Regions from separate parts of the Homo sapiens genome. Here regions 1 and 2 are each linked to region 3. Evidence: promoter capture Hi-C in 16 types of primary human blood cells and fetal thymus (Javierre and others, 2016). All regions are on one chromosome and are shown on one strand. The core of a region is centred on a gene start or on the middle of the fragment in contact, and the rest is flanking DNA. Distances in the headings are between cores, read along the strand shown.

Region 1 (3,021 bases), core at 181-2,680, 1.4 Mb before region 3:
TGCATCAGCCAAAAGCTCCACATCTTATTTGTACGTTGTAAATTTAGGGGCCGATTTTCCATTCGGGTATGTGAATTATTTAGACTTCACTCTAACTCTAACACTACAACATTTCAGTAAATCCTCTTCCTCCATCACTCTTTTCGTCTCTTCTTTATTCCTTATCTCTCATCTCTACAGACGATATATAGGTAGCTTTTAAAAAAATCATTTACCCCTTATGCCCGAGGCCCAGAATAAACGTCAAGGATCGCAACCCTGAAGCACTGCAAAACTGAACGTAAGGTAACAGCGGGTCCGTGCAAAGCCCAGGGAAACAGGTTTCGCCCTGGGCCAGGGCTCCCGAAGCTTTATCATCCTCTAATCAGCAGGCATGGGGCATTTCCATGGCTCAGGATAATCCAAAGGGGGTAAGGGGAAGTAGGGAAAGACAGGGAAGGGGTTTGTCTGTGGGGATGCTTACATACTCCCTTTGCTCCTAACCCACACCCCAAGCCCTGGAGACGATAAGCTGCTAGAGAATCCTCCTCACACCAAACCCCTCTTTATTCCCCGCCCCCGCCAGTGGATAAAGGGGGGCAAGAAAACGCCTCCAATCCCAGAAGGTGGAGAAAAAGGGGGGAGGGGGCAGAGTGAATGAGAGGTATCATCAGAAGCATTTGTAGGTAAATCAGACAAGTGGGACGGGCGCTCCCGCTCCCGCACCCCACCCCACCGCACCCCTCGCCTGCCCGGCCAGGCCTTCCCAAGGCCGGTGCCCCATAGGTTCCCCAGGAGGACCGGGAGGAAGAAGGGAAGCGGGCGAGCCGCGGTGCTGGAGGGACTAAGTTACCTTGAAGCTTCTGGGGAAGAATCCAAAGATGATCTGTGGCTTGGAGGGGCGGGAGACGGGCGAGGTGGCCGCAGCGGGGGCGGGCGGCGGGACCGGGACGTGCAGGGGGAGGTCCGGGCAGCTGCGGGGAGCCTGGGGCGACGGCTGTCCGGTACGGGGTCCCTCCGGTTCCGCGGCGGCGGAGCCTCTAGGCCTCACGGCCGGACCCGAACCTCAGCGTTCCGGTGGCGGCGGCGGCCTCACGATCCTCCCCCGCGGGCCCGTCCCATCAAATCGGCACCGACCCCGTTGCGGCTCCGCCGGTGGCTCCTCGCTCACATTCCTGGCGGGCGGCGCCTCAGCTCGTTGCCCCGGACCCGGCGGCGGCGGCGACGACGTGGGGAGGGGGGGAAGGGAGGGAGGAAGACTGGATCTGCAGCGGCAGCAAGAGAAGGGGACAGAATAAGGAGGAGGAGCCGCAGGAGCTGGAGCCGCCGCTGCCAGAGCCACCTTTCGCTACCCGCGGTGGGTCCCAGTCAATGCCCCTTTCTCTCTCCTATTGTCAATATCACCGGGCGGCTGAGTCCATGGCACACGCGCAACCGAACCTTCTGGCCAGCAGCGCCCGCCTCCGGCGCCCGCCCACTGGAGACTTCAAACGGGAAGCGAGGCCTCATTGGCCAGTATCCGCCTTCACTCCCCTGACAGCATGTTCGGCTGAGACCTGATCAGGGATTGGCGGCAGGAGGGCGGAGAAACGGGAGGGTGGGAAGAGAGAAGGTCGAGGATTGGGCCGAAGCTTGAGGAACCCGGATGCAGCCGCGATCTCGGGCGGTGCAGCCGCCGCTTCCGCCCGGCAGTGGGGCAAGCTGAAGTGAGAAGCCGCTGGGCCTGAGAGGAGCTCTTTAATTCCGGGAGGTGTGCGACTAGCGGATCAGCGGGCTGGCTTTCCGTGCTGTGCGGAGCCTTTGGGCGGCGGTCGTCTTGGACCGGAGGATTCCAAGGGCTCGGGTCGTCTAAGGGTCGGGGAGCCCCGGAGACTTGATCCCGCCCTGCAGCTAGTGTGGCCCCTCAGGGTTTGGGGAGTCCCACTCTGGACGGGACCCTGTGATGCGTAGGCAGGAATAAGATCCCCCGCCCGTGCCGGTGTGCCACTGCTTGTGTAAATGGGCCCCTTGAAACCCCCAGCAGTCGCTCTCCGCTGAACCTTCTTCGAATTTTCTCTCACCTCATCTCCTTTTCCTTAAACGTCTGTTTTGAATATCAGACCCCTGTAGCGTTGAAGCCAGCGCTCGTTTAATTAATGCAGGTGGGAACGCTGTCGCCACAGTTTGCAGTCTATTCATTCAGAATAACCCGCCAGTCAGCCGACTGCTCAGAGCTCGGAAAGACCCAGCTCCAAACTAGGAGTTTCGAGATTTTAATTGGCAAGTTGGACCCGAAAGAGTTAATGGAGAAGACTACTTAAATCTATCTAGAACAAGTGATGAGATATTTGGAGATGTGTTTGCATGCTTGGTGAATGCAGACGGCCAAATGGTACATTTCCAGATAATATTCTTGGATTAATGTATTTGAATGCACCCTACGTACATTTTTTGAGAGGAAAAAAGGAAGAAAGAAATTATTAATGCTAACTACAAACGTCAGAGTACCAGTTGTTCAAAACTTAGAAATTGGGGGGGGGGACAAAAAAATTAACATTCTTATTTTCTCAACTCAGAGATAACCACTTACAGTATTTGCATACTTCCTTTTAGTATTTTTTCTCTTTATGTTAATAATGTGTGTCGATCTGTAGCCTAGTTTTTTCCCTCAGCATTATATCATCTTTTCGATACGGTTAGGGAATAGAGCTATATATAAATAAAACTATATGTACCATATGTACAAGTGACAACGAAAAATGCATTTGCATTTCTCCTGTTTGTGTTGTTAAACACTAGAGTTTTGAAATTTTCTTTGCACACTCCCAGAAATGGCTCTTGAGTGGAAAAATAATTTTGTGCCATGAAAGATAAAAATATTCCTGCTTTGAACTGAAATGGAAAACGAAAAGATGACTCTTAGATGGAAGCAGTCTCCCCCTACTGACTCCAGATGATTGGCCACTGTATGGCTAGTGCCCACTTTTGCCGTGATAAAGTTCATCACCACTAAGTATGAACTATAGAATACCAGCAGTCTAGTTCCTACCCTCAAGAACCTTA
Region 2 (3,201 bases), core at 168-2,667, 1.1 Mb after region 3:
TCACAATTCAAATGACCTGTTAGGTAGTTTTAGGTCCTCCACTTTATTAAAATAATGAATACTTGATTTATGCTTTATAATTAACCAAGCACTTTCCATCACAAAACATTTCTCACAATAACCCTGTCAAGGAGTGGGAGTGATCCATTTTATAAATAAACCGAGCAAGGTTACCCAGGGCCTGAAAGACCTCACTTTCAGAATTCCATTCATTTTTTCCTTTCGGACAATTTCCATGAGATCAAATGCCCCCCACCTACCAATTTACCCAGACTTGTATAGCTCCTTCTTTTCATTCAACAAAAATGTACTAAATAGCACAGGGGCTGAGCTAGGCCTCCGGAGCACAGGAAATCCCAGTGGCCAAAACATCATGTTTGATTCTATAGGCTATCAAGCTGCCAGTTTTCCTCCGATATGGATTCTGATTCTACTACAATTAGTACTTCCCAATTTAAAAATGATGGCAGTTGTCATTCATTAAGCACACACTAAGGGCTAGGCTCTGTGGTAAACAACCTACAAATGCGATTTCATTTAAAGCTTTGAGTCTATGTCCCTTAACCCCAGACAGAGCTCATGGTCAGAAACCATATGCTGCCAACACAACACTTTTTCCTTTTTTTTTTTTTTTTTGAGATGGAGTTTTGCTCTTGTTGCCTGGGCTGGAGTGTAGTGGCGCGATCTCGGCTCACTGCAACCTCCACCTCCTGGATTCTCTTGCCTCAGCCTCCCTAATAGCTGGGATTACATGTGCCCGCCATCAGGCCCGGCTAATTTCTTTTGTATTTTTAGTAGAGACAGGGTTTCACCATGTTGGCCAGGCTTGGTCTTGAACTCCCGACCTCAGGTGACCCACCCACCTCAGCCTCCCAAAGTGCTGGGATGACGGGTGTGAGCCACTGTGCCTGGTAAACACTTTTTATAATAAAGGGAGCAAGCTTTCCTTTTCCCCATTGAATCCCACCCTTTCACAACCTCAGTGAAACTACTCCCGGTAGTGAGACACGTTCCAGTTGTCTGACTTGGCAGCATGATTCCTCCAGGGTAGCTCTTCCACTGTATTTCTGCTTCACACCCATCAGCATCATGGGCAAGGGTCTCTCCAGCAAAGGGTGGTTAAAGAAGGCCAAGTTTCATTTCGTAGCTTAGACAAAACAAACCTCTGGCACATAAACATTGGATTCCTGTTGGTCAGGCCAACGAGACCCAGGAAGACTTAGAGTGATATTCCCTGGCACCCATGTCTCTCAAAGGTCTCCCCTAATATCCCCAATATACCAGGAAGGCATAAAGGAAGGAAAAGATGTCTATCAGAGAGAAGCAGAGCTCCAGAAGACAATTGTTTACCTTGCGTTGCTTTTCAGCGTAGGGACCTCAGTGCGGCAGCAGCATCCTCATCACCAGGGAGCTGGTTAATAAAGCGGAAACTCCAGCTGCACTCCAACCTCCTCCATCAGAGCCTGTGCGCTAACATTTTCAGGGGAGTGGAATACACGTTGGAGTTTGAGAGGCACTGAGTTAGAACACGTGGGGAGAGACTACAGTGTAGTGCTGTGGTTCTCAAGGTATGGGGCCCCAGAGACCAGCAGCATCGGCATTACCTACTTTGAAAACACAAATTTTTGAGCCCCACCCCAGGCCAATTGAATCAGAAGCTCTAGGGGTGGGCCCTCACCATCTGTGTTTAACAAGCCCTCCAGGTGATCCTGATGCATGCTAAAGTATGAAAAGCCCTGGTATAGACAATCAGTTTTCCAAGCCCTGGCTCCCCTACTTCTGACTCATCCCTTAGGCTGCACTCTTGGCTGACATTTGGGGGAATGGAAGGAAGGCCTTGTATACTTGGTTTTCCCCCTTCCATTTGATTTCCCTGGGGACGGTTCTTAAAACTCAAGCTTCTGAACAAAAAGTCTGTCTTGCTTGTGATTTAATCCTTCATTTGCATTGCCAACAACTAATGGGAAGAAAGAAGTTCCAGGAGACCAACTGGCTTTTTAGTACTGCATTGTATATGATCAGAAGCAGGCCTGGGAATGGAAGACTCAGGTTTCCCAGCCCAAGAATAAACAAGGGCATGAAGCCACAAGGAAGGGGGGCTTTGGTGGGGCTCTCCCAGGTCACAGGCTGGGGGTGTGGGTGGGCATGTACACAACACTGGCACAAGATAGAGCCAGATGGGAGAGAGTATCTACACAGACAGAAGAGGCAAGAACGTGTGGATACCCTCCTAGTCCACAAAATCCGAGAATTGTCAGCTGTCAGACAACAACACAGTCCACCTCCCACTCTGATCAGTACCACACCTACATCTCTCCAGACTGAGGACCTCCGTTTCTTCAGTCTGTGGTGGTGCCCTCACCACCCGCTGATATTAAAAGAAAGAGCACAATAGTGTCCATCCATTCATTCAACAAGTCTTTGCTGAGACAGGCCTAGATGCCAGACACAACGCCAGGTGCACAAAGACACGACTCCCAACTTCAAGGAGTGTACATTCTAGTGGAGGAGATAAGCCTCAATTTTTTAAGTATATAGTCACCACAACATGTGGCCATGTTGGGGGATTGTGTGACAGGGAACCTGGCTTAGTCTCAGGTCAGTGAAGGCTCCTTTAAGGAAGGAGACTGTTGGAGTTTGGGTTCTGAAGAATGCACAGGAGTTAACTAGGCAAAGGCAAGTGTTCATGGTGGTAAGGAGAGCATCACAGGCAAAGAAAAAGGACATGAGCTGAGACAGAGCATGGCAAGTTTAAGGATCAGAGAAAAGCACCATAAAGAGACTCAGGTCATGACAGAGGGAGGTGGCATCAGATGGGCACAGAAGTGGTGGGCAGGACTAGGCCACAGGTTTGTAAAGCTTTGAGTGTTTATCCTAAAAGTGATGAGGAGCCTTCAAAGGATTTTAAGTAGGAGAGTATCAGGGACAGATTTCCATGTTGTAAAGCTTACTCTGGCTGTGCCATGGAGAGGGAAGTGCTGATTCAGGAGTATAAGCAACTATGAAGCTGTTGCAGTTGTCCAGGGGCCTAGGACCAAGTGCTGGTGGTAGAGGTGAGCAGAGGAGTGCAGATCAAGGAGAGACTTGGATGACATCCTTAGGCTTTGGATATGGATTGGACATTGGTAAGGTGTCCAGGGAATCTCTTAGTCACTAGGCTGGGCTGAAAATGGAGTGAGAGCTGGACAGGAAGAGAGGCAG
Region 3 (2,944 bases), core at 1-2,500:
TTGTTTTTTTGTTTTGCTTTTTTTTTTTTTTTGAAACAGGGTCTCGCTCTGCCACCCAGGCTGGAGTGCAGTGGCACAATCATAGCTCACTGCAGCCTCGACTTCTTGGGCTCAAGAGATCCTCCCACCTTAGCCTGTCGAGCAGCTGGGACTACAGGCATGCGCCACCACGCCCGGCTAATTTTTTTGATATTTAATAGAGATGAGGTCTTGCTATGTTGCCCAGGATGTTCTAACTCCTCAAGTGATCCTCCTGCCTCAGCCTCCCAAAGTGCTGGGGTTACAGGCGTGAGCCACCGTGCCCAGCACATGTCTTCTAAAAGCTGCTGTTTCTTCCTTTTTCAGGAGTTCTTTCCCATACTGTTCTTCTGGATGACTCCTCGTCATCCTTCGGATCTCAAATGAAAGGTCATTTAGAGAGGCTTGGCCTGACCATACAATTCAATTAGTTTCTTACCCCTTTAGTCTCTCTCATAGACCCTGTTATTTTCCTTCATCTCATTTATCACAAGTCTTCATATATTTATTGCGTTGGATACATTCAATTCTGTCGATTTTCTTAGAATGTAAGGTTTCCAAGGGAAGGGACTTCGTTTTGTTCACTTTTGTATTCCTAGAACCTAGCACAATGCCTGACACATAGCAGGTGTTCCATAAATATCTGCGGACTGACTGTCTATTTCACTTATCCTTGTTCCTTGTACTGCATTTCAGTTCTCGCTACTGCAGTGTAACCTCCAAGAGACAGGAGAAAATCATAATACCCCCCTCCCTCCATCACTGAGTGATACTGAGACGGCGTCCTTGCACGTTTGAGCAGCTGCTGCCTTCTCCTGGGAGGCTGTCAAGTACCCCAAGGTGCACAATAATTCTTTTAGTAATTGCCTGACTGAGGCAAATCAGTAGAGCTGTCAGAAATGCTTTCAAACTTAACATTCATTGGGTTCTTGGGCACCTGAAATTGCAAACAATTGCATTACAATTAAGTGAGAATTAGCAGAATGTTACAGTTCTTTAACAATTTGCGTAACAAACCGAGGCGTCCTACGCCATCTCGCTGAAATGAAATTCGGATGTAGACACCCTTGCGCTTCAGGACTCTACGCTCTTGCAGCAGCTCCTCTGCCCAATGGGGGGCGGCAGCATCTCAGTAACTCACTCGAAAGACGGGTAGGCGGGAGGAGACATTCGCGTTCAAAATCTTTTTGCCTCTATCCGCTCGCCGTAGCGCTTTAGCCCGCTCGAGTTTCAATGCGCGTTGTTGCTTAACGAAGCAGAGTCCTACACACTGTCTGCTGCTCTCCTGATCATGGCTTCTCCGAGTTCTTTCACCTACTATTGCCCTCCATCTTCCTCCCCCGTCTGGTCAGAGCCGCTGTACAGTCTGAGGCCCGAGCACGCGCGAGAGCGGTTGCAGGACGACTCGGTGGAAACAGTCACGTCCATAGAACAGGTGAGGTGGCAGGACTGGGCGAGGCGCCCGCGCGATGTGTTCTGGGAGCGCGAGTCCCGTTCGTAGGGCCGCCCGGGTGCGGAACTCACCGGGGAACTACGACTCCCACAGCGCACCGCGGTGCCTTTCCTCTGGGAAGCTCCGGGCGCCCAGGCTTGGGCTTCGTCGTGGAGCGTTTGCGCGGCCAGCTTGGGGAAGGGTCGTTTCAAGGTTGGGCTTGGAGGAGAGGGCAGTAGCCGAGTCCCCTCTGCCCTAAAGAACGAGAAGAATCGTGTTCTATGCCTGGAGGACAGAGGCAGCCCGTGCGGGTCGGACAGCCCACTCTGTTCTGCCAGTACTTCGGGAGGTTCTGGGGTGCATAGTGCACTTTTCCCAACCTGCCCTCAGCTTCTGGAGGCAGAGAGCAGGGCCAGGCTGCTGTCATGCCGTTTCACGATCTGTTTAATTTTTGACCTACAGTGCCAGGTTTGGGGGCCCGCCTCGTGGGTGGGCATTTTGGTAGTCATTCAGCCATTTGAGCACCAGCTACGTGTCGGACACAATATTAAACGATGGAAGTACAAGGAAATAAAACAGCTCCTGACCAGGAGCCTGGTTGGGGGACAGGCAGGAAAACAGTTTGGAAAGTGATCTAATAGAAAGAATGGATTTTGGACTACTAATCATTCCCTAAGGCCTAGAAGTAGGATCGAACCTATCATTTTGAAAAGTGTTTGGCGAATGAGTATATATTCATATGCCCAAAACCATAGTTTTGTTTTTCTTCTTATTCCCTAATTGGAATTGTTCCCAAGGTTGCTATGTGGAACTGTTTATCCATCTGTCCCTAGGAGAAGTGGTTAGGATAATTCTTAACACTAATAAATGAACATTCTGCTGCTTACTGAAATAAGATCTCTTAGTGAGATCAGTCTCCAGGCTTTACCTTGGAGAGACCTGTTTTGTATTTCCTACTTTAAGTTGGAAGCCTGTACTTTGGCAAAATTAGTAACAATAATTGTTTTATTGTACAGTTATGACTAAATAGAATTATAAATTTATAACAGAAACAAGGGCTTGATACGTGGTTATTCACAAAGTAGCAGAGAAAATATTTTAACTGGAGATTTAAACTTCATGGAATTTAGGGTAGCAAAGGAAATCCTCACCTCTCGAATCTAGCTAATTCTCCAGGTTGGTTTGCCTACCAGTGTGTCCCAGGGAAGGCTGACTGCAAAAGATTGTAAAGAAATTTCCCATTGATGAAAAACCTACAGGATCTTTGCAGAATTCCTAAATGATGGATTGCTGAGTTGATTCAGGTCAAGTGTTTTACTTATTATCTGACCTTAGACTATGGGATTGCCTTTTTTTTTTTTTTTTTTTTTGAGATGGGGTCTCGCCCTGTTGCCAGGCTGGGATGCACTGGCTTACTGCACCCTCCGCCTCCCGGGTTCACGCCATTCGCCTGCCTCAGCCTCCAGAGTAGCTGAGACTACAGGCGCCCACCAC

The links. The method cuts DNA at HindIII sites, captures the fragments that hold promoters and counts their contacts. A CHiCAGO score of 5 or more calls a contact.
Region 1: a contact is called between the fragment with the promoter of PPP2R5E here and the fragment with the promoter of FNTB in region 3, in 2 of 17 cell types (fetal thymus and total CD8 T cells). The highest score is 7.3, in fetal thymus.
Region 2: a fragment that was not itself captured here is called in contact with the fragment with the promoter of FNTB in region 3 in 7 of 17 cell types (naive B cells, fetal thymus, naive CD8 T cells and 4 more); the score reaches 10.0 in naive B cells.

What each region holds. Positions count from the first base shown.
Region 1 is chr14:63,541,947-63,544,967 of GRCh38, forward strand. PPP2R5E (protein phosphatase 2 regulatory subunit B'epsilon) reads right to left here and starts at 1,431. Exons shown (of 14, transcript NM_006246.5): 1 at 833-1,431. It overlaps LOC112268140 (loricrin-like), which reads left to right and starts at 838. Exons shown (of 1, transcript NR_158218.1): 1 at 838-2,718. RefSeq lists silencers at 927-1,066, 1,107-1,246 and enhancers at 1,483-2,474, 1,537-1,746, 2,834-2,913. The HindIII fragment of the contact is 771 bases long and covers 838-1,608 here.
Region 2 is chr14:66,065,743-66,068,943 of GRCh38, forward strand. No RefSeq gene overlaps it. Among named protein-coding and RNA genes, the nearest start is that of LINC02290, 44 kb to the right of the region's middle. The HindIII fragment of the contact is 957 bases long and covers 940-1,896 here.
Region 3 is chr14:64,985,645-64,988,588 of GRCh38, forward strand. FNTB (farnesyltransferase, CAAX box, subunit beta) reads left to right here and starts at 1,251. Exons shown (of 12, transcript NM_002028.4): 1 at 1,251-1,453. The coding sequence starts at 1,310. The region is part of intron 3 of CHURC1-FNTB (CHURC1-FNTB readthrough); the gene reads left to right. It overlaps LOC107984655 (a long non-coding RNA gene), which reads right to left and starts at 1,469. Exons shown (of 2, transcript XR_001750792.2): 1 at 1,036-1,469; 2 at 1-955. The HindIII fragment of the contact is 3,816 bases long and covers 1-2,944 here.